Linked DNA regions of Homo sapiens: regions 2, 3, 4 and 5 are each linked to region 1. The links are contacts of gene promoters, found by promoter capture Hi-C in blood cells and fetal thymus (Javierre and others, 2016). All regions are on one chromosome and are shown on one strand. The core of a region is centred on a gene start or on the middle of the fragment in contact, and the rest is flanking DNA. Distances in the headings are between cores, read along the strand shown. Region 1 holds the start of ANXA2 (annexin A2). Region 2 has its middle 11 kb from the start of BNIP2. Region 3 overlaps RORA (RAR related orphan receptor A). Region 4 overlaps RORA (RAR related orphan receptor A). Region 5 has its middle 57 kb from the start of BNIP2.

Region 1 (3,593 bases), core at 53-2,552:
GCAGCAAAACCGAGCAAGGGAGTTGGCTAAACGGCTGCAAGAAACACACACACACACACACACACACACACACACACGGAAGAAAAGCGAGAAACAGCAAAACCGAGCAAGAGAGTTGGCTAAACGGCTGCAAGAAACACACACACACACACACACACACGGAAGAAAAGTGAGAAACAGCAAAACCGAGCAAGGGAGTTGGCTAACTGGCTGCAAGAAACTCTCTATCTCACTCTCTCTCTCTCTCTCTGTGCTGCAAGAAACTCTCTCTCTCTCTCTCTCTCTCTCTCTCTCGGAAGAAAAGCGAGTAACAGCAACACCGAGCAAGGGAGTTGGCTAAACGGCTGCAAGAAACACACACACACACACACACACACCACACACGCACACACACACCCCAGCAGTCATGAAAGAAGGAGAGGAAAGTTCTTTGTTGAAACTCCGGGTTCGAAACACACACACACACACACACACACACACACACACACACACACACACACACACGAAACTCCGGGTTCAAAGCTATGGGCCCCACCCCGCTCAGGACTGCCTGCTACGAGGCCGCGCAGAGATGCCCCAGGCGCGGAGAGAAGCGGAGCACAGCCGTGCTAGGGACAGGGGCGCCACCCTGGGCGGGACTGAGGTGGGATCCTGGCTCCCGGCTTTGGCCTCCCAGCCCAGGCTCGGGGCTTCCTGGCCCTCGGAGGCCGGGGCGGGCCAGGCTTTGCAGCACAGGGCGAATCTCCCTCCCTCCCCGGGCGCCCCCCGGGAACTGGCGGCCAGAGGTTAAGCTGACATGTTTGCAGACGGTAATGGGGCGCTGGATGCCAACAGCCCCAGCTCAGGGGAGTCCAGATTTATGTTTCTTGGAACAATTCTTTCCTCCATTGCATTAACGCCAAAAAAAAAAAAAAAAAAAAAAAAACACTTAATCAAGCCCAGAGTCTACTACTAAAGTCTTGTTAATTTATTAACCCAAGCCGAGGCTGAGAGCTCGACGTGGCACTTAAGAAGTAAAATGAGGAAAGGAGGAAGAAACGGGGTCCCTGTGGGCCTCGGGGCAGCCTCGGCCGGGCTTTCTCGGAGGGCAGGGCCAGGGGCGCTGGGGCCGCTCCCGCGTGGCGCGGCTCGGGAGCGTTCCAGGGCGCGGTCCCTGCGGGCCGGCGGGCCGGGGTGAGTCACCCCTGACTTGGGGTGGGAGCGGGCCGTGTAAGGGGGAGGCGGGGCGGGGCGGGGCGGGCCTCGCCTCGCCTAGGGAGGATGTGGCGGGTATAAAAGCCCCACCCAGGCCAGCCGGCTCTGCTCAGCATTTGGGGACGCTCTCAGCTCTCGGCGCACGGCCCAGGTAAGCGGGGCGCGCCCTGCCCGCCCGCGATGGGCCGCCAGCTAGCGGGGTGTGGAGACGCTGGGAAGAAGGGTACGGCCTGGCAGGGAGGCCCCGGCAACTGGCCCCGGAGGCCGTCGGGGGCAGGGGGCTGAAGGGACGGCCGGCACTGGAGAGTCTTTGGGGAGGGGGCTCAGGGACAAGGTGTTTGGGGCAGGGGTGAGGGGCCACCGGCCCTCGGGCCGGGAGGGTGCAGGGCAGAGGTGGTGGGGGGTCGGGCTTCTCTAAGAAGCCCTAGCGGGAGCGGGGCGAGGCGGCGTGGGGAGAGGGGCGGAGGGAGGCCCCGCATTCCAGACGCGCCAGGCGCCGCCGAGGCAGGGCGTGGCCGCCCAGGGAGCCGCAGGTCCCCGGCGCAGCAGTAGCAAGTGGGCTTTCCACTGCCCTCTAGAAAGTGCCCCCCATCTGCTCTAAGTTACTGTACTCGAAACAAACGCGCGCTTGTGGAGTTGAACCGACCAGCAGGAGGGAAGTAGCGGGGGAAGACGAGAGGGGGGAGTGTGAGTAGGCACCCCTCAGCCCCCCATAAAAGAAGACATTAAAACGTCAGTTATTCCCCTTGCTCTAGGTTATCTTGTAGCATAGCAACTTCGGATTTCACTCTACCCGGAGAGTTTCCCGCTTGGTTGAACACATTGGCCTCAGGAAGGTAGTGTCCCCCATGATTCTGTGGGGAGGGTTGTCCTGTTACTCGCCATGATGTGACAATGAGTCAGGAACTGAGAGTAGAGAGAAGGGCGTGGCCCCGGGGCCTCTCCCTTCTGGCCGCTCTGTGCAGCTGGCCCCACTGCTGGTGTGGAGGGCTTGGGTTCCATCAGCCGGCTGTTGAGAAGAAGGAGGGGAACACAGATAAGTTTCCTCATCTGGGAAGGTGGCTTAAGGATGCCTATTCTTACCACCACCCAGAGTTATTGGAGATTTCAAAAAACACAGTCATTAGGTAATAAATGTGTAAAGTACACAAAAAACAAAGTGCTGTGCAAATGCAAAGTGTCATTTTTGTAGTAAGATTGCCGTTTTAAAGCTGTGGGTGTTCTGAGTGCGTGTGTAAAAGAGCAGTGGCCTCATGGGTGCACGCTGGGCCATTACCAAGAACCTTAAGTTGTTGGTGTGCAAAGGCCTGGGCCCCAGACTGTACTGATGGATTCTGTTCACACGTGTGTGCTACTGTGCCTGTCTGGAACTTGGTGACTTGGAATGCAGAATGCACTTTCCCACTGAAACAGTGTTGCAGAAGGTGCTGACGTTCCCAGGCTAGCCCTGAAAGACCTTTTTAACATGCACTGCCTGATTATGGGATTGGTGGTGGGGAGGTGGAGGGTAGTGAGGGGCAATGTGTGTGTAGGAAGACTAAATCACTGAAATATTTTTCTGGAACTTTTTTTAGCTTTAAGGTTGACACTGAGTAAATTATTTTAATTGGAAAATTATGTCTTTGCCCCTGTTCCACTTTCTTTTTTCCACCTTCCACCTCCTTAGAGACGCTCTTCTGGCTCTTCCGTGACGCATTACAACAGCCATCCAGGCCGGTCCAGTTACGCTGCATTCCTTCCTCCTTCCCATTTCGGCGGACCTGCATCCAGCTAGAGACTAGCAGATTGAATCGATATTCATTAAGTTAGGAATGGTTGGTGGTCCTAAGAGCCTCAGCAACCGAGAGGAGTCTTGTTATTTAAAAAACAACGATACTGGGCGTGGTCGTGGGCCTGTAGTCCCAGCTGCTCAAGCTAGTGGATCTCTTGAGTCCAAGGCCAATGTGAGCAACATAGCAAGACCCAGTCTCAAAAAATAAATACATAATAATAATAAAAAACCCTCGTTCACCTAAACAGATCTATAATTTATAGAATGTAAAGCAGCAATATTCAGGCAATATTAAGGAAGATTTTTGGTAAGACTGGGGCAGCAGAGGTGCCCTTGATGGGCAAGGGCCAGGAGTGTTAACACAGTCCTGCTTAGTAATTTCTTCCCTTCTTCCAAGTCTGTCGATTATCTAAAGGTCAAGGGTTTGTCCAAAAATGTCCCTTGCATCTGCAGTGGAAGGATGTGACATGTATGTGCATTTTTACAATTGGAGGTTTGTGATTTGGAGACCGTTTAGATTTTGTAATTTCCCGCAGTGCCAACTAGACTGCCTGTGGTAAATGCCCAGGAAATATTGCTGACTCACTGACTTTGATTAGGAGCTCAGTCTTGCACTGGAGTCTCAATA
Region 2 (3,543 bases), core at 171-2,670, 700 kb after region 1:
AGATCCTTTTAATCCTCATGAGGTCTGATCATATCCTTGCTGGAGCAACCCACAGAAGTTACATGGTTGTGAACTTTTATGAGAGGGGAAAAACTGAAGAATTTCTCTGTGCAAAGGAGTCAAATCAGCGGCAAAATGTGTTACCTTTGTAGGATCAACACAGTTGATCCAGTGAATGGTACTATAGTCCTGAGAAAATGCGGAGAGAAAGTTTAGGTTTAAAAACAATTAACAAGGACAGAAAGGGAGGAGGGAGAAACAAGACAACTTCCTTTCAAGTAGAATCATTTACATAAAACATTACACCTGATAAAGGTGTCTGTCAGTGTGTGGGAGGGTCTGTATTTCTTCAGTTATTCACATCCAGAATGAATTAACTTGACACTAATTGCAGAAGGATTAAATTTATTCAATCTTTATAGACTACTCCTTGACTATTAAAATTAAATGAAGATAAAAATGAATTATTCTTTCCTAGATCAAAAATGAAATACCAAACCATTTTATAAGGGTGTAGGAGAAGATGGGCAGTGAAGACCACAACCTGTGACTTAAAAAAAATAAATAAACAGAAATAAGAAGCTTAATTTTGAATAGATTTGTTAATTTAACAAAAAGATTCCTTATTTAAGAGGTCCCTAGGACACCTTCGGAAATATATTGTACCCTAGCTAGAAGAACCTAAAAATACACACGTTTTTATTAATACTTTACAAATATATATAGCTGAGCCAAGAAATTCATTTGCTAGGGAGTGGTTTTTTTAATAGTCAAAACACAAAAAACAATTATTAAAATGAAAAAAAGAGCAAGTTTCAAGTGATTACATTTCAGCATGTGTTCTCTATACCACCAGGTTGGATAAGGAACTGAAGCAAAAACTATTACAAGAAGAGGCAGTCTTGGCCAGGCGTGGTGGCTCACATCTGTAATCCCAGGACTTTGGGAGGCCGAGGCGGGCAGATCGCTTGAGGCCAGGAGTCCAAGACCATCCTGGCCAACATGGTGAAACTCTGTCTCTACTAAAAATACAAAAATTAACCGGGCATGGTGGCACAGGCCTGTAATCCCAGCTACTCGGGAGGCTGGGGTAGGAGAATTGCTTGAACCTGGGAGGCAGAGGTTGCAGTGAGCAGAGACCACGCCATTGCACTCCAGCTGGGGCAACACAGCGAGACTCCGTCTCAAAAAAAAAAAAAAAAAAGAACAAAAAAGAAGAGGCAGTCTTATAGACAAAACTTTGAAGGAATTCTGCATTTTCAGAATGGGACTTAAACAAAAAACAATCAGTTCAAGGGAATGCCTGAAACTGTCATCTGTTTCTTCATATGTTGTTGCCTGGTTTCTAGTCTTAGGTAACGCAGATAGGAATGAAGTGGGAGGGAGTAGGGGGAGGAGGATCTACAAATTCAATGGTCGGATTGAAATTTTAAAGAAAATTTGCTGATTCTGAGTTCAGGGCTCTTTCACCTATACTGTGCAAACCTGAAAACTGTAAATGCCAAAATACTTTGTAAATATTCAGATTTTTAAAATCTTTCCTATTACCTGGTGTGGAATTATGTACATATTTGGATGGTCTTCTTGTGTTATGCCATTTTTTGAAAAGACAGAATATAGACATGTAAAATATAATTTTCAGATGCTTGTACTTAAACATTCACATAACATTTTAGTGAATTTCTAAAAATCAAGGAAATAATCATCTCAGCTTCAGGCACAATGCTAACTTAGATGAGTCATAGGTACGTCAGAAATTAATGATAAGGAAACAATGTCAGGGGAAGTTAGGTAACTTGCCTAAGGTCACAGAGACTATAGAAAAATAATAATTAAAATGCTTCTCCTAACTCCAACCAAGTTCGCACGCCTTCCATTTTAGCATAAGGTTTATGTGTTGAGCCCTTCTATGAAAAAGAATTGCATTTTAACATGGATCAGTGTCATAAGCTAATTAAGGAAAGATGAATAATGTAATTTCAGGCATCAGTCATCTTACTGATTCAAATCCTGCCCCCATACCTCAAACTACACACAAGGCATATAGATGGAATGGCATCTCATTCATGTATGTGTGTGTTTATGTCTTACATTAAAATCATTCATATTAAATGAGTAATCTGCTAAGGAATTAGTATTCCACTAAAAAAAAAGAATCTAGATGTTAGATATTAAGGATCTTTTAAAGAAGATAATTCATACTAAACTTCGCATTTCATTTCTCCCTATTATGTATATACCTGAAATTGGAAAGCTTTCTTCTTTTTCCTAGTAAGTACAATTTGGTGTTTTAGCAATTGTATTAGGAGAAGGTGTTTCTCCTTCTTTATCATAAAGGAACCACATAAATGAGAAATAATGTTACAATTTTAATATTTTCTTCTCAGTTATACTGAAATTCATTTTTAAAACTCAGTACATTTTTATCAATTTACAGAGTTCCCATGTTTCAAAATACAAACAATAACCTAGATTCTCTCAGCTGAGTAAGTTACTTTTAGGATGTAAACTATTTTTGGAAATATACTTGTAGAACATTTACCCATTGCAACAGTGAATTAGATGCCACCTTTTAATTTTTATATTTGTATTAAATAAAAATGCATGTGCCTTACATAGAGCCATATCAGTGCTTTGTTTTGTTAAATGTAATAAAATTTCCAATTGACCCAACAATTACTTGTGTATTTTGAAATGCATTTGTTTTCTCTAAACAAATAAGATTGCACTTTGACTCTAAAGATGCAGAATGAATGATTAATGCTTTGATGAAGGACAGTGTTATATCTAATTTTGTGTTAATCTGGATAAGGAGACTGAAACTGACCGCAAAACAGTTAGCTTTAGTTGATCAATTCTTACTTCCACTTACCCACCCCAAAAATAATTTAAAAAACATTATCACTACTAAAATTATCAATCAATCAAACAAACTGCTTTTTTCTAATTGGAGGCTATTGCTTATTCATGTTTTTCTAAATATAGTTGATCACAGTGTTACTAACATTTCATATCCTGAAGAACAGAAGAAAGAGCGAAATCTACTTCCCTCATCAAGATTAATCTTTACTTTAATTATAAACCAAGCATGCAGATACTATGTATTAATACTTTTGCAAGAGCATTAATTATTTCAGTGAAGAATCATTTTTGTAATGACCCCTGTTGAGTGTAGAAGATCTTGTATACTATTCAGTGTAGAGGATTCAGTGTACATGCATCACTGTCCATCAGCTACTTTCCAAATGGCGACCATGATAGTAACCAAGTGGTTGCTATGATTTTGCCAAAGTTTATGATTTTATAATATAAAATGTATATCCTCAGATAATTTTAAACTCATATTTGTAAGTTTTTATGACTGCAGAAATATCCTCACAAAGGACTTGAATATGAACTCTTAAGATTTCTTCACACTGGCCAGGCGCGGTGGCTCACACCTGTAATCCCAGCACTTTGGGAGGCCGAGGTGGGCTGATTACCTGAGAACAGGAGTTCCAGGCCAGCCTGGCCAACTTGGTGAAACCCCATCTCCACTAAAAA
Region 3 (3,421 bases), core at 659-3,158, 510 kb before region 1:
CACTTAATCCACCGGACTGAGTTCCATAGGAAGCAGTGACATGGCAAAAGGAGTGGTCAATTGTTTGGAGGGAACTATGAGATGGAAAAAACAGGAAAGATAATTTTCAAAAGACAAAGCAGCATGCATATAAGGGCATAAATATTTTTTGTTGAGACCCCCTTTAATAGACTCTAACTCTACAGTTGTTACTTTGACACCCTATACAGTAAATCCATAGTATTTAAGCAGATTCTATAGTCATCCAAATATTTGCCCATAGCCATTCTTTAACCGTGTCTGCTGCTAACAAATGCCAGCAAAGCACAGCATTGTCTTTGTTTTAACATTTCCCTTAAAATAGGGCCACCTTTCTGTTTTCCACCTGACTCACAGTGAAACAGAAAGACCTGGAATGAAGTAAGTCATTTGGTGCCCTGAGATAAAGGACAGCACAGCCTGTCACGTGGCAGTCACGGGGGAAGTTGTACTGACAGTCTCTTAGAAATGCAAAAACAATAAGGGCACTTGGCAACCAGAATGGAATACCAAGACGTTGGCCAATTTCCTCTAGGCTTTCCTGGGAGAGGTGGCTGTAGGAGGCTGGGGTGGAGGGGCTGATCACAGGCTTGCTCTACTGGCTCTAGAAACCAGAGGTGTAACTGGGAGCTCTCTGTAACTTTCCAGGTGGTGAGCATAGAGGCTATGGACATGGCAGGGATTTCCATGTCCACACCAAGGGCCCCTCCCTGAGCCTGAGCACGAGGTGGTGAGCTCTGAGCTCACTCCTGAATCCCAGCACATAATCACTCAGAAGCCAGGGAAAGAGGAAGTCCTCCAAAGCGTGGCTGCCCTTACCCAGTGTTTTGTGGAGCCTACTTTAGGCAGATTATCAGTAAGAATAAACCCTATAGTGCTATAATGGGCAAGCAGTGATACCTTTTCAAAGCACTATTTTTTTCAAATTGAACTTGTTTCTAAAACTAAATTATGGTAATGGTTGTACTACTCTATACATTTACTAAAAATCATTAAATATCATTAAATTGGATGCTTATAATGTGTGGATTTTGTGGTATATAAACTATGCCTCAGTAAAGCAGTTGTAAAAAATTTTTAAATCACACCTGTTAATGGATTCCCCAAACACTGTTTCTCTAGCACCTAGAGGTGGTGATTTTTTTTGTTGTGTTTTGTTTTGTTTTGTTTGTTTGTTTGTTTGTTTTGAGATGGAGTCTTGCTCTGTCACCCAGGCTGGAGTGCAGTGGCACGATCTTGGCTCACTGCAAGCTCCGCCGCCCGGGTTCCTGCCATTCTCCTGCCTCAGCCTCCTGAGGAGCTGGGACTACAGGCGCCTGCCACCATGCCTGGCTAATTTTTTGTATTTTTAGTAGAGATGGGGTTTCGCCATGTTAGCCAAGATGGTGTCGATCTCCTGATCTCGTGATCCACATGCCTCGGCCTCCCAAAGTGCTGGGATTGCAGGTGTGAGCCACCATGCCCGGCGAGGTGGTGATTTTTTTGTTTTTTTGTTTTGTTTTGTTTTGTTTTTTTGAGGCATGGTCTCCCTCTATTGCCCAGGCTGGATGGAATAGAGTGGTGCAATCATAGCTCACTGTAGCCTTGAACTCGTGGGCTCAAGCGATCCTGTCATCTCAGCCTCCCAAGTAGCTAGAACGACAGATGCAGCCCCCCCACATCTGGCTATTTTTTTCTCTTTCTTTCTTTTTTTGTAGAGGCAGGGTTTTGCCATGTTGCCCAGACTGGTCTGAAACTCCTGGCCTCAAGCAATCCTCCCACATGGGTCGCCCAAAGTACTGGGATTATAGGCGTGAGCCACTGCACCTGGTCTGGTTCAGAGAGTTTAACAGGCATTGCCTTAAGCAAAATATTGGACAAACTGAGGAGTTTCTAATATGCCTGTTGTGCCCTTTCTCCACCTCTGTGACCTTCCCTCAAATCAGTTACTGGGCAGGTTGTGGTGGCTAATGTCTGTAATCCCAGCACTTTGGGAGGCCAATGGGGGCAGATCACTTGAGGTCAGGAGTTCGAGATCAGCCTGGCCAACATGGCAAAACCCTGTCTTTTTTGTATTTTGTAAAAATACAAAAAAAAAAAAACTTAGCCAGGTGCACGTCTGTAATCCCAGCTATTTGGGAGGCTGAGGCACGAGAATCACTTGGACACAGAAGTTGGCAATTGCAGTGAACCGAAATTGCACCATTGCACTCCAGCCTGGGGGACAGTGCGAGACTGTTTCAAAAAAAAAAAAAAAATCAAAAATCCGTTACCTGACACTTTTCTCTTTTAGCCCTTCTTTCTCCCAAAACGAATTGCTTAGTATTTTACTTACTCATTAAAGAATGCGTCCTTGGCTTTTTAATATATTTGCACTTTAAACCTGTCTTTCATTCTAGAATGATTTTTAAAATCCTCATTCAAGGATTTAAAACCTTAAGGGAAGGGATAGAAGGGTAGTGAAGAAGAAGGGCTTTCCCCTAAGATCCTAGAAATCACAACAGGAAGGCAACTATCTATTTTGTCCGCCAGTAAAGTCAACTGACTGAGTATGACAGAAAATTGGGTTGATCTGATGTTCTCAAACATGGCCGTGGAAATGGCCTTGAGAGCAGAAGGTGTGTTGAAGACTAGTCCAGGCATTCCATCAGTCCACCAGTGAATCAGATACAACTAGGAGCTTCCGTCACAGAGGAGCTTACTGTAGTTACAAAAACAGCCAGAGTCAGCCGGGCACAGTGGCTCATGCCTGTAATCCCAGCACTTTGGGAGGCTGAGGCAGGTGAATCACCTGAGGTCAGGAATTCGAGACCAGCCTGGCCAACATGGTGAAATCCTGTTTCTACTAAAAATACAAAAAAAAAAAAAAAAAAAAAAAAAAAAAAAAAAAAATTAGCTGGGCATGGTGGTGGGCGCCTGTAATCCCAGCTACTCAGGAAGCTAAAGCAGGAGAATCATTGAACCTGGAAGGCGGAGGTTGCAGTGAGCCAGGATCGCGCCATTGCACTCTAGCTTGGGCAACAATAGCAAAACTCCATCTCAAAAAAAAAAAAAAAACCCAAAAAACAACAACAACAAAAAAAAAACAGCCAGAGCCTCATAAAGATGATTTATGTCCATGGAGAGAAGTGTGAACTCCTAAATATTGACATGACTGACAGTGTGGGGATGAATTCAATTAGTTGTTACAGTATCACTCTTTTAACCTTTAAAAGCATTTTGCATGTATCAAGAGAGAAGCCATGTGATTCCATGGAGAAAATGAGATGGAACTAGCCAATCTGGGTTTGTACCTTGTCTGTTTCTCTCTAAGTTCTTTGTGAATTTAGATGAGCCACCTAAACTCTCTGAGTCTCAGTCCTCCCATGTCTAAAACGGGACCCCCAACTTCACAAAGTTGTTTTGAGGTAGATGGTGTTAACCT
Region 4 (3,868 bases), core at 25-2,524, 530 kb before region 1:
AGGATTAGAATTGGTACCATAATCAATTCTAGACCCTAATTTCTGGCATTTCATTATGTTTAGCTGCAGTGCCAAGTTGAGGCAATGGCTTAACATGGCTCCCTGACATGGTGTTAATATTGAAGGAATCAATATTTAGCTGGAGAAATGAATATTTAGCTGGAGAACTCAGCCAACTGTTTTGAGTCTGAGCTATCAGCCTCATAAGGCAGAAGAGCTTAGGGAGAAGGCTGAGGTTTTTGCCAGACCATGTCCCATCTCTTCCTGCCCTTACATTTGCTTATGAGGTCCTCACAGTGGCTGGTGGCCTATAAGGGGGCCCTTCTGTAGAACTCTGTGTGTGCCAGAAGAGGCAGCTTTGGCCCTGTGCAAGACACTCTGGAGCATTAAGTCTTGGCATCAGCCATGCAACTCTTGATACCAGTGCCTGTTTTCTAGAGGCAAAATAAGGACACTTCATGAGAAGAAAGGAGTAATCAAATGTCGGAGACTTGAAAGACTGCAGGAGTCTGGGAGATTGGCAGGGCTTAGCTCTGGAAGCTGAAGCCAGGCCTCTTCTCTCTTCAGCTATTCCTCCTGCAGCTATGAGTTGGGATTCTGCTTCCCCATGGAGCCAGAGGAGTGAGTAAGGAAGAGTGCTTGGGCAGGGAGGGGCTGTTCGTGGGTGGCAGGGCATCCAGTGGAGGCCTGTAGGCTGCCCTTCACTTCTGGGACAGGGGCTTTGTGCCTCTGGGCAGTGAACAGCCTACCTCCCAATGTGCCTCCGTGCCTCCTACTCCTGTAAGCCTGCCTGGCCCCACTTATGGACCTGGAGCCTATCTGCTGCTCTAGGCAGACTCACCTTCTCTTTCCCAGGTGGAATTTTCTCACAGACAGGGAGTTCTTCCCCAGACCCTGGACCAGTCACTCTTCCATGTGGTCTTCCCCCTCTTCCCCCTGCCATTTAAAATACACATTTAAGGGGTAAGTCCCTCTCATAACACTGTAGAAAGGGAACACCTACACCCTTTTACCCTCAGAGAACAGACCACTTTCTGTTTTTCAAGGGCCACTTTTATCCTTAAGCAAGACGTAAGAGGCCTCATATAGGCAGATGTGAGGCCATTTCATTTTAGAACATACTGGTTTTGCCCCACCAGGGTCGGTCTCTTGGCTCAGAGATAAATGATTGGGAATCTCTGCTCACGGACCTCAAAGTCTACAGGTGAGCAGATGAGCAGGTGATGACAGTCACCACATACAAAGTGTAACCACAGAGGTGGGTCCCATCTCAACAGGGCAGACAGTGGGAAACCTACCTTGGACACTTCAAGGAAGGAATTCAGAAGTCTAACTTCCTTCAGTGAATTGGGCATAATGAGCTACAAGGCTGTTGCATTAATTCCAAAGTGGGAAGGGAATGGCTGGTGTCCGGAAGTGTTCACATCTGCTAGGGGAGGCTGAGGACTCCTGGCACTTTGCATCTATAGGTGTTTTCTACAGCTTCATAGTGGGCCACCTGGTGTTGGGTCACTTGTATATTTGTCTTCCCTCCCTGTATTGGGAGACCATATGTAATTCTCAAAGATGCCTCCCACCGTCCCACATGGAAGGCACTTAAGAAATTGGATCTTTCTGTCTCTCGGCTTATATAGACCTTGAGAATGGAGGTGGGAGGATATGCTCCTCCCTCTTCCTGTTTAGAAATGACTAAATAGGGCACACTCCAGGGACTTGGAGTATTTCTTAGCTGGAAAATAGGGTAGAGTAGGAGGAGACTGGCATATCAGGTCTTATGTTGAGCTTTTTCGTCTGTATCTACTATGCAGAATGATGGGCTAGAGCTCTACCATCTAAAATGGTAGCCGCTAGCCACATGGCTATATAAATTTCAATAAATTAAAATTAAATACTATTAAGAAATTCCATTCCTCTCTCACACTAGCCAAATTTCAAGGGCCCAACAGCCACAAGAGACTAGTGGCTGCAGTATTAAGTAACACAAATAGAGAGCATTTCCATCATTGCAGAAAGTTCAGAGGCATGCACCAGAGACTCTAAGCAGCACGTGTTGATCCAAAATGTGCTCCATAAACCATATGCGTCTGAAGGCAAGAACAGAGGCGAGCTTGTCAAAATACACATTCCTGGGCTCCTCCCTAGACTTCCCAGGTCCGTATCTCTGGGGGCTGGAGGGGAGGCCTGGGAATCAGTATTTTAGCAAGCACTCCCAGATGGCTATTATGCAAACTCACACTTCAGGATGAGCACTCCAAGGGAAGCCAGAAGTTGAAGAGCGAAGCGGGAAAACCTCCTGATATGGCGATTCTGGGCATATCAGATGTCTTGTAGCACTTTCTACTCCACTGTAAGATTTCCCAACCAAACATTTTCAAGAGAATGCGACTGGAGCCTCCAGACTGACAGCTAAGTGCGCATCTCAGTAAAGTCCTGGCTGTTCTTCCATCAAGTAGTAAAAACTGAAGAAAGTGGCTGTCCTAGCATTATCTCCTTCTCGCCTTTTGCAGAACCAGGAGGATGGAAATAACCTCGTTGCTCCCCTTGAGTGTGTTTGAATCACAAGTACCTTCCCTCTAACATAAATTTATTTCCCGCTGCCTTCCTCTCAACAAAGACCAGCCAGTGATGAATACCAGACTTCATAGCTTATTTGTCAAAGCAGCACACCTGTGAGGATTCCTGTGAAAGATAAATTTTGATAGGGGGAGGGAGGGCTGGAGGAGGAGGGACCTGGCCAGGAATAAATCTTAACATGTTGCACCAGACTGTGAATGAGCGCTTGCCTCACAAAGCTTGCCGTCTTGACAAGGTATGATAAATTACCCTCTTTGTTGACACCTTCATTGGGTTATTTATGGCTCATTAATTGAACCAAAAAGGGGCCTTGTAGACCCAGCAGGGGCACCATACAATGCTCCTCCAATGGACCCAGCTCAAAGAAAAGAACAAAGGAGGGAAGAGTGGGAGCGGGGCACACAAGTGTGTCTGCTCCTTGGCTTGAGACACTCTTCACCAAACAATTCAAGATTAAAAAAAGAAGAAGAAGAAAGAAAGAAAAGAAAAAAACCCTTTGGAAGCTCAGGTAAACCTCTCTGGGGATGATTAGCTGTACACCTGGTGCCCCAGCCTGTATGCTGTCTGGCACCTTCCAGAGGAGCCTGTGCCTAGAGCTCTGTGCATTATTGCCAGCATTACTTTAGACTTGCCTGGAGAGTCAGCATGGCACAGTGGAAACCATCAGAAGCTCCCAGCACAGTCCTAACTCTCCCATGAACATGCTGTGGGACTTTAGGGCGGTCACTTTGTCTCTCTGAGCTTCAGATGCCTTCCTTGTGAAATGAGGGAGTCGAATTGGACAAACTCAGAGTCTTTTTCAGTTCTAAGGGGTATAAGAAAACGAAAAACAGCTTTTCTTTTCACTGCCCATTGTATTAGTTTAACCTCTCCACTTCTGATTATTACTTAGTCTATTCATTTGGCAAGTAGTGTTTACTGAGGTCCTACCATGTATTAGGTTCCAAGGGGAAGGCAGGCATACTGAGCGCGAATGCTTTTGTTGTTGGCTTCCACGAGCTTCCCGCCTAGAATGTTGGTTGTGTTTTCAGGAGCTGATTAGCACTTCCTGTTTTAGTTAATCCTTAAATTAAGTAGTTACAGGATAGTCCCTTGGAAGAAACCCTCATTTACTTGACAATAAAGGAACATGAAGTATTTCCAGCTGTTGTGTGTGAAAGATTATTTCTTCAGGGTGCCACTGTGGTCCATGAATATGTTGCAAAAGGCTCATGTGAGATGCAGGGGAGTCTGAATTTTGTCCTGGAGTCTATGAGGAACATTTAAAGGGATTTATTCAGGGAAAAGATATGGG
Region 5 (3,810 bases), core at 170-2,669, 650 kb after region 1:
TAAATACTCTATAGCTATAAAATGAATGAATTTATTTATATAATAGAATGGAAAGATCTCAAAGATATATTAAGAGAAAACAGCAAGATCCATGACAAACATAGTGTACTACCATTAAAAAAATAAACAAAATTAAAAAGCAAAAAAATATGTATGTGTGTTGATTCTAATATGCATACAAATTCTCTGGAAGAATAAATAAGAAACTAAAAACTAGTTACCTCTTGGAGAGAATATGAACTGGAGGACATGGAGGGCAGGAGGGGGAATTTTAACCATATGAATACATTATGTATTCAAAAAAATTAAACTACAAAAAAGTCATACTTTATAAGAAACTTAAGAACATCCCACTTTATTTTATTTTTATTTTTTCAGACAGGGTCTCACTCTGTCACCCAGGCTGGAGTGTAGTGGCACAGTCTTGGCTCACTGCAACCTCCACCTCCTGGGCTCAAGCAAACCTCCTACCTCAGCCTCCCAGTTAGCTAGGACCACAGGCTCGCACCACCATGCCTGGCTAATTTTTGTATTTTTTGTACAGACAGGATCTCACAGGCGGGTCTGGAACTCCTGAGCTCAAGTGATACACTTGCCTCAGCCTCCCAAAGTGGTAGGATTACAGGTGTGAGCCACCACACCCAGCCAGAACATTCCATTTTATGCCAAAGATAAACTTCCAAACCAGCAACTTAGTATCAAATAATAGCATTTAGGAAGGTATCCCCAAAATAAATTACAAAGAAGTAATTTAAAAACCCAAAGGCTCATATCATATGTTGATCTGAAAAGGACTCTAGTAAATCTATTTTCCAATTTCTTAGATCGTATTGCATATCTAATGAATGTAGGCTTCAACAGCTGGTTCACACCTCTGTTACTCAGGTTCTATGATGATAAACTGTGAATAACAGTGCTAGTAAAATTTCAGCCAAGATTATATGATAAAGGTGTCTCTGAAAGATCTTATAACTATCAAACCCCCCATGAATATGCAGTGACCAAGCACCTGTATTTCTCTTTCTCCCTGTGGATGAAATAGAAATATAGACCTTCATGGTAGCGTATATCATAAGACTATAATCCCCATGCCAACTGAAGTCACATTTATTTTGATCAATACTATATTCCTATCACCTATTACAATTATCTTAGCCTAGATTTCCCCAAAAGTGGAGTGGAAGACAAAGCCTGTATTTGAATAGTTATTTGAGACTGTGACACCAGTGGGCAAGAGCAAAGGAGGGAGAAGCAGTACAAGGTCACATTATCAAGTCAACTGCTGCAGCAGTAACAGGTGGATCCCGCAGGACCTTCTGGGGAGACTTCTGAAATGCCTCTCAGGCCGTCTTCTCAGAAGAAGAAAGTGGGAGGAACCCCATGCCCCACTGGTCCAGGTATCTTATGGAGCTCTAACTCCTCCACCCTTCCGGGTTGCACAGGTCTGAGTGCCAAGTGGACTCCCCTGGGAATCCAACGGATGACACAGCTGTAGAGAAGCCAGGGCAGGAAGCAAAGAGGCTCACGCTGCAGGCCAGAGGCGAAGCCCCATCAGGCTGCATCTGTGGAGCTTTGTTGAAGTCTGCAGGGAACTGGGCACCACAGCTGTGGCTGGCACAAGAGGCAAGTCTGAGAAGACCTGAAGTGGCGCTCAAGAGGTGTTCAATACACAGTGCATGTCACACGGTAAGGGCTCAATAAATATTTGTTCAATGAAAAGACCCCAGGTGACCGGATCACAGAATCAGAGAACTGGAGGAGTCCTTGCAAGTCCACTCCTCCAACCTCCCACCTGGTGTAGGTTTTCCTTCTGAAGGAGCCTAGAGATGCATCAACACTTCTCCAAAAGCGGGGCTCATCCACTACCTGTGAGGGAGCCCCTTTTGTGTTTAAGTAGCTCTACATACGAGAATGCTTTCCTCGCACAGAGAAAAATCTATCCTGCTGTAGCTTCTACCATCACTTCCAATTTGGTCCCCAACAGCATGCTGGGGCTCAACCAGCTGTGGGCACAGTGCAGCTCTAATTCACCCCTACATTGCTCATGTTAAGCGAACAGGGAGGAGAAATCCTGCATGCAGTTAATTTGGGAAAACATGACAGAATAATATGAATTGGAAAGAGATATGAAGCACTGTTCTTATGTTGATACAAGCAAATATGTTCTTTAAAAATAAAAAGGAGGCCAGGCATGGTGGCTCACTCCTATAATCACAGCACTTTGGTAGGCCATGAGTTCAAGACCAGCCTGGGCAACATAGTGAAACCCTGTCTCTACTAAAAATACAAAATTTAGCAGGGCATGGTGGTGCATGCCTGTAGTACTAGCTACTCAGGAGGCTCAGGTGGAAAGATCACCTGAGCCCGGGAAGTTGAGGCTGCAGTGAGCCATGATCGTGCCACTGCACTCCAGCCTGGGCAACATAGTGAGACTCCATCTCAAACAATAAAAAATAAAAATAAAAAGGAAATAAGTCTGTGAATACTTAAATAAAAAGATAAAAATCTGGTCTTCTTGGAGGTGAGGGTATTTTTTCTTTTTTCTTTGTGTGTGTGTGTGTGTGTGTGTGTGTTTCTGGCTTTGGTGTTATGTTTAAATAGGCATTCCTCACACTAAAATTATATAGTCACTGTTGTTTTCTTTTTCTTTTCTTTTTTTTTTTTTTTTTTTTTTGAGATGGAGTCTTGCTCTGTCGGCCAGGCTGGAGTGCAGTGGTGGGATCTCGGCTCACTGCAAGCTCTGCCTCTCAGGTTCACACCATTCTCCTGCCTCAGCCTCCCAAGTAGCTAGGACTACAGGTGCCCACCACCACGCTCGGCTAATTTTTTGTATTTTTAGTAGAATTGGGGTTTCACTGTGTTAGCCAGGATTGTCTCGACCTCCTGACCTCGTGATCTGCCCACCTCAGCCTCCCAAAGTGCTGGGATTACAGGTGTGAGCCACCGCGCCTGGCCAGGGTATTTTTTCTCACACTCTGTGCTCTTAGCTGAGCCCACTTGGAGGAAAACATCTACACTGTTGATTGTTTTTGCTTAAGTTCATGGCCACTCACCTTGAGGGAGCCCATAGTTGACCTGAAAGTCCTACCAGTTCATTCACTCTCCCATTCCAACCCCTTCTCCCCATGGCCACTCTCAGCTGATGGCCTTGCTTCCTATTTTATTGAAGACATAGAAGCACTCAGAAAAGTCTACCAGTTGCCATCACTATATCCACCAGCATCTGTGGATGTGATACTGGCATCTGTGGCCACATTCCCTGGCTTTCTTCCTGTTACTACAATGTGGTGGTTTAAGAATATGTGCAAAAATCTTTGACATTACTCCCTTCAAAAAGTGGAGCCTAAAATCCCTTCCCTAGACTGAGGACTTAATGACTTGGTCCTAAAAAATAGAATGTGAAGGCACTGAAGGTGTGTGACTTCCCAGGCTAGGTTTTAAAAGCATTGAGGCTTCTGCCTTGTTCTTTCTTAGATCATTTGCTCTGGGGAAAGATGCTATGTTGTGAATACATTCAAGTAGCCCTGTGAAGGAGTCCATCAGTGAGGAACTCAGGCTTCCCACCAGCAGCCAATATGAGCTTGCCAGTCATGTGAGTGCACCATCTTGGAAGCAAATCATTAGCTCCCAGACAAGCTTTCTAATGGTTCCAGCCTTGGCCAACATCTTCACTGCAACCTCATAGGAGATCTTGGGCCAGAACTACCCAACTTAGATGCTGCTAAATTCCTGATCAACATATATTGTGTGAAATAATAAATGTGGGTTTTTCAAGCCACTAAATTTGGGGGTCATTTGTTATATGGCAAT

The links. Contacts are between HindIII fragments. The CHiCAGO score rates a contact against its expected background, and 5 or more counts as called.
Region 2: a fragment that was not itself captured here is called in contact with the fragment with the promoter of ANXA2 in region 1 in 9 of 17 cell types (M2 macrophages, erythroblasts, M1 macrophages and 6 more); the score reaches 8.4 in M2 macrophages.
Region 3: a fragment that was not itself captured here is called in contact with the fragment with the promoter of ANXA2 in region 1 in 3 of 17 cell types (activated CD4 T cells, total CD4 T cells and naive CD8 T cells); the score reaches 6.3 in activated CD4 T cells.
Region 4: a contact is called between a fragment that was not itself captured here and the fragment with the promoter of ANXA2 in region 1, in 1 of 17 cell types (activated CD4 T cells). The highest score is 7.9, in activated CD4 T cells.
Region 5: a fragment that was not itself captured here is called in contact with the fragment with the promoter of ANXA2 in region 1 in 1 of 17 cell types (naive CD4 T cells); the score reaches 5.3 in naive CD4 T cells.

Annotation. Positions count from the first base shown.
Region 1 is chr15:60,395,695-60,399,287 of GRCh38, reverse strand. ANXA2 (annexin A2) reads left to right here and starts at 1,302. Exons shown (of 13, transcript NM_004039.3): 1 at 1,302-1,345. RefSeq lists silencers at 570-879, 1,000-1,539, 1,610-1,749 and enhancers at 1,910-2,099, 2,120-2,169, 2,230-2,279, 1,773-2,364, 2,365-2,956. The HindIII fragment of the contact is 5,260 bases long and covers 1-3,593 here.
Region 2 is chr15:59,698,503-59,702,045 of GRCh38, reverse strand. No RefSeq gene overlaps it. Among named protein-coding and RNA genes, the nearest start is that of BNIP2, 11 kb to the right of the region's middle. The HindIII fragment of the contact is 1,672 bases long and covers 585-2,256 here.
Region 3 is chr15:60,910,538-60,913,958 of GRCh38, reverse strand. The region is part of intron 1 of RORA (RAR related orphan receptor A); the gene reads left to right. Among named protein-coding and RNA genes, the nearest start is that of RORA-AS4, 150 kb to the right of the region's middle. The HindIII fragment of the contact is 5,670 bases long and covers 1-3,421 here.
Region 4 is chr15:60,928,125-60,931,992 of GRCh38, reverse strand. The region is part of intron 1 of RORA (RAR related orphan receptor A); the gene reads left to right. Among named protein-coding and RNA genes, the nearest start is that of RORA-AS4, 170 kb to the right of the region's middle. RefSeq lists an enhancer at 1-48. The HindIII fragment of the contact is 3,040 bases long and covers 1-2,794 here.
Region 5 is chr15:59,744,658-59,748,467 of GRCh38, reverse strand. No RefSeq gene overlaps it. Among named protein-coding and RNA genes, the nearest start is that of BNIP2, 57 kb to the right of the region's middle. The HindIII fragment of the contact is 4,439 bases long and covers 1-3,638 here.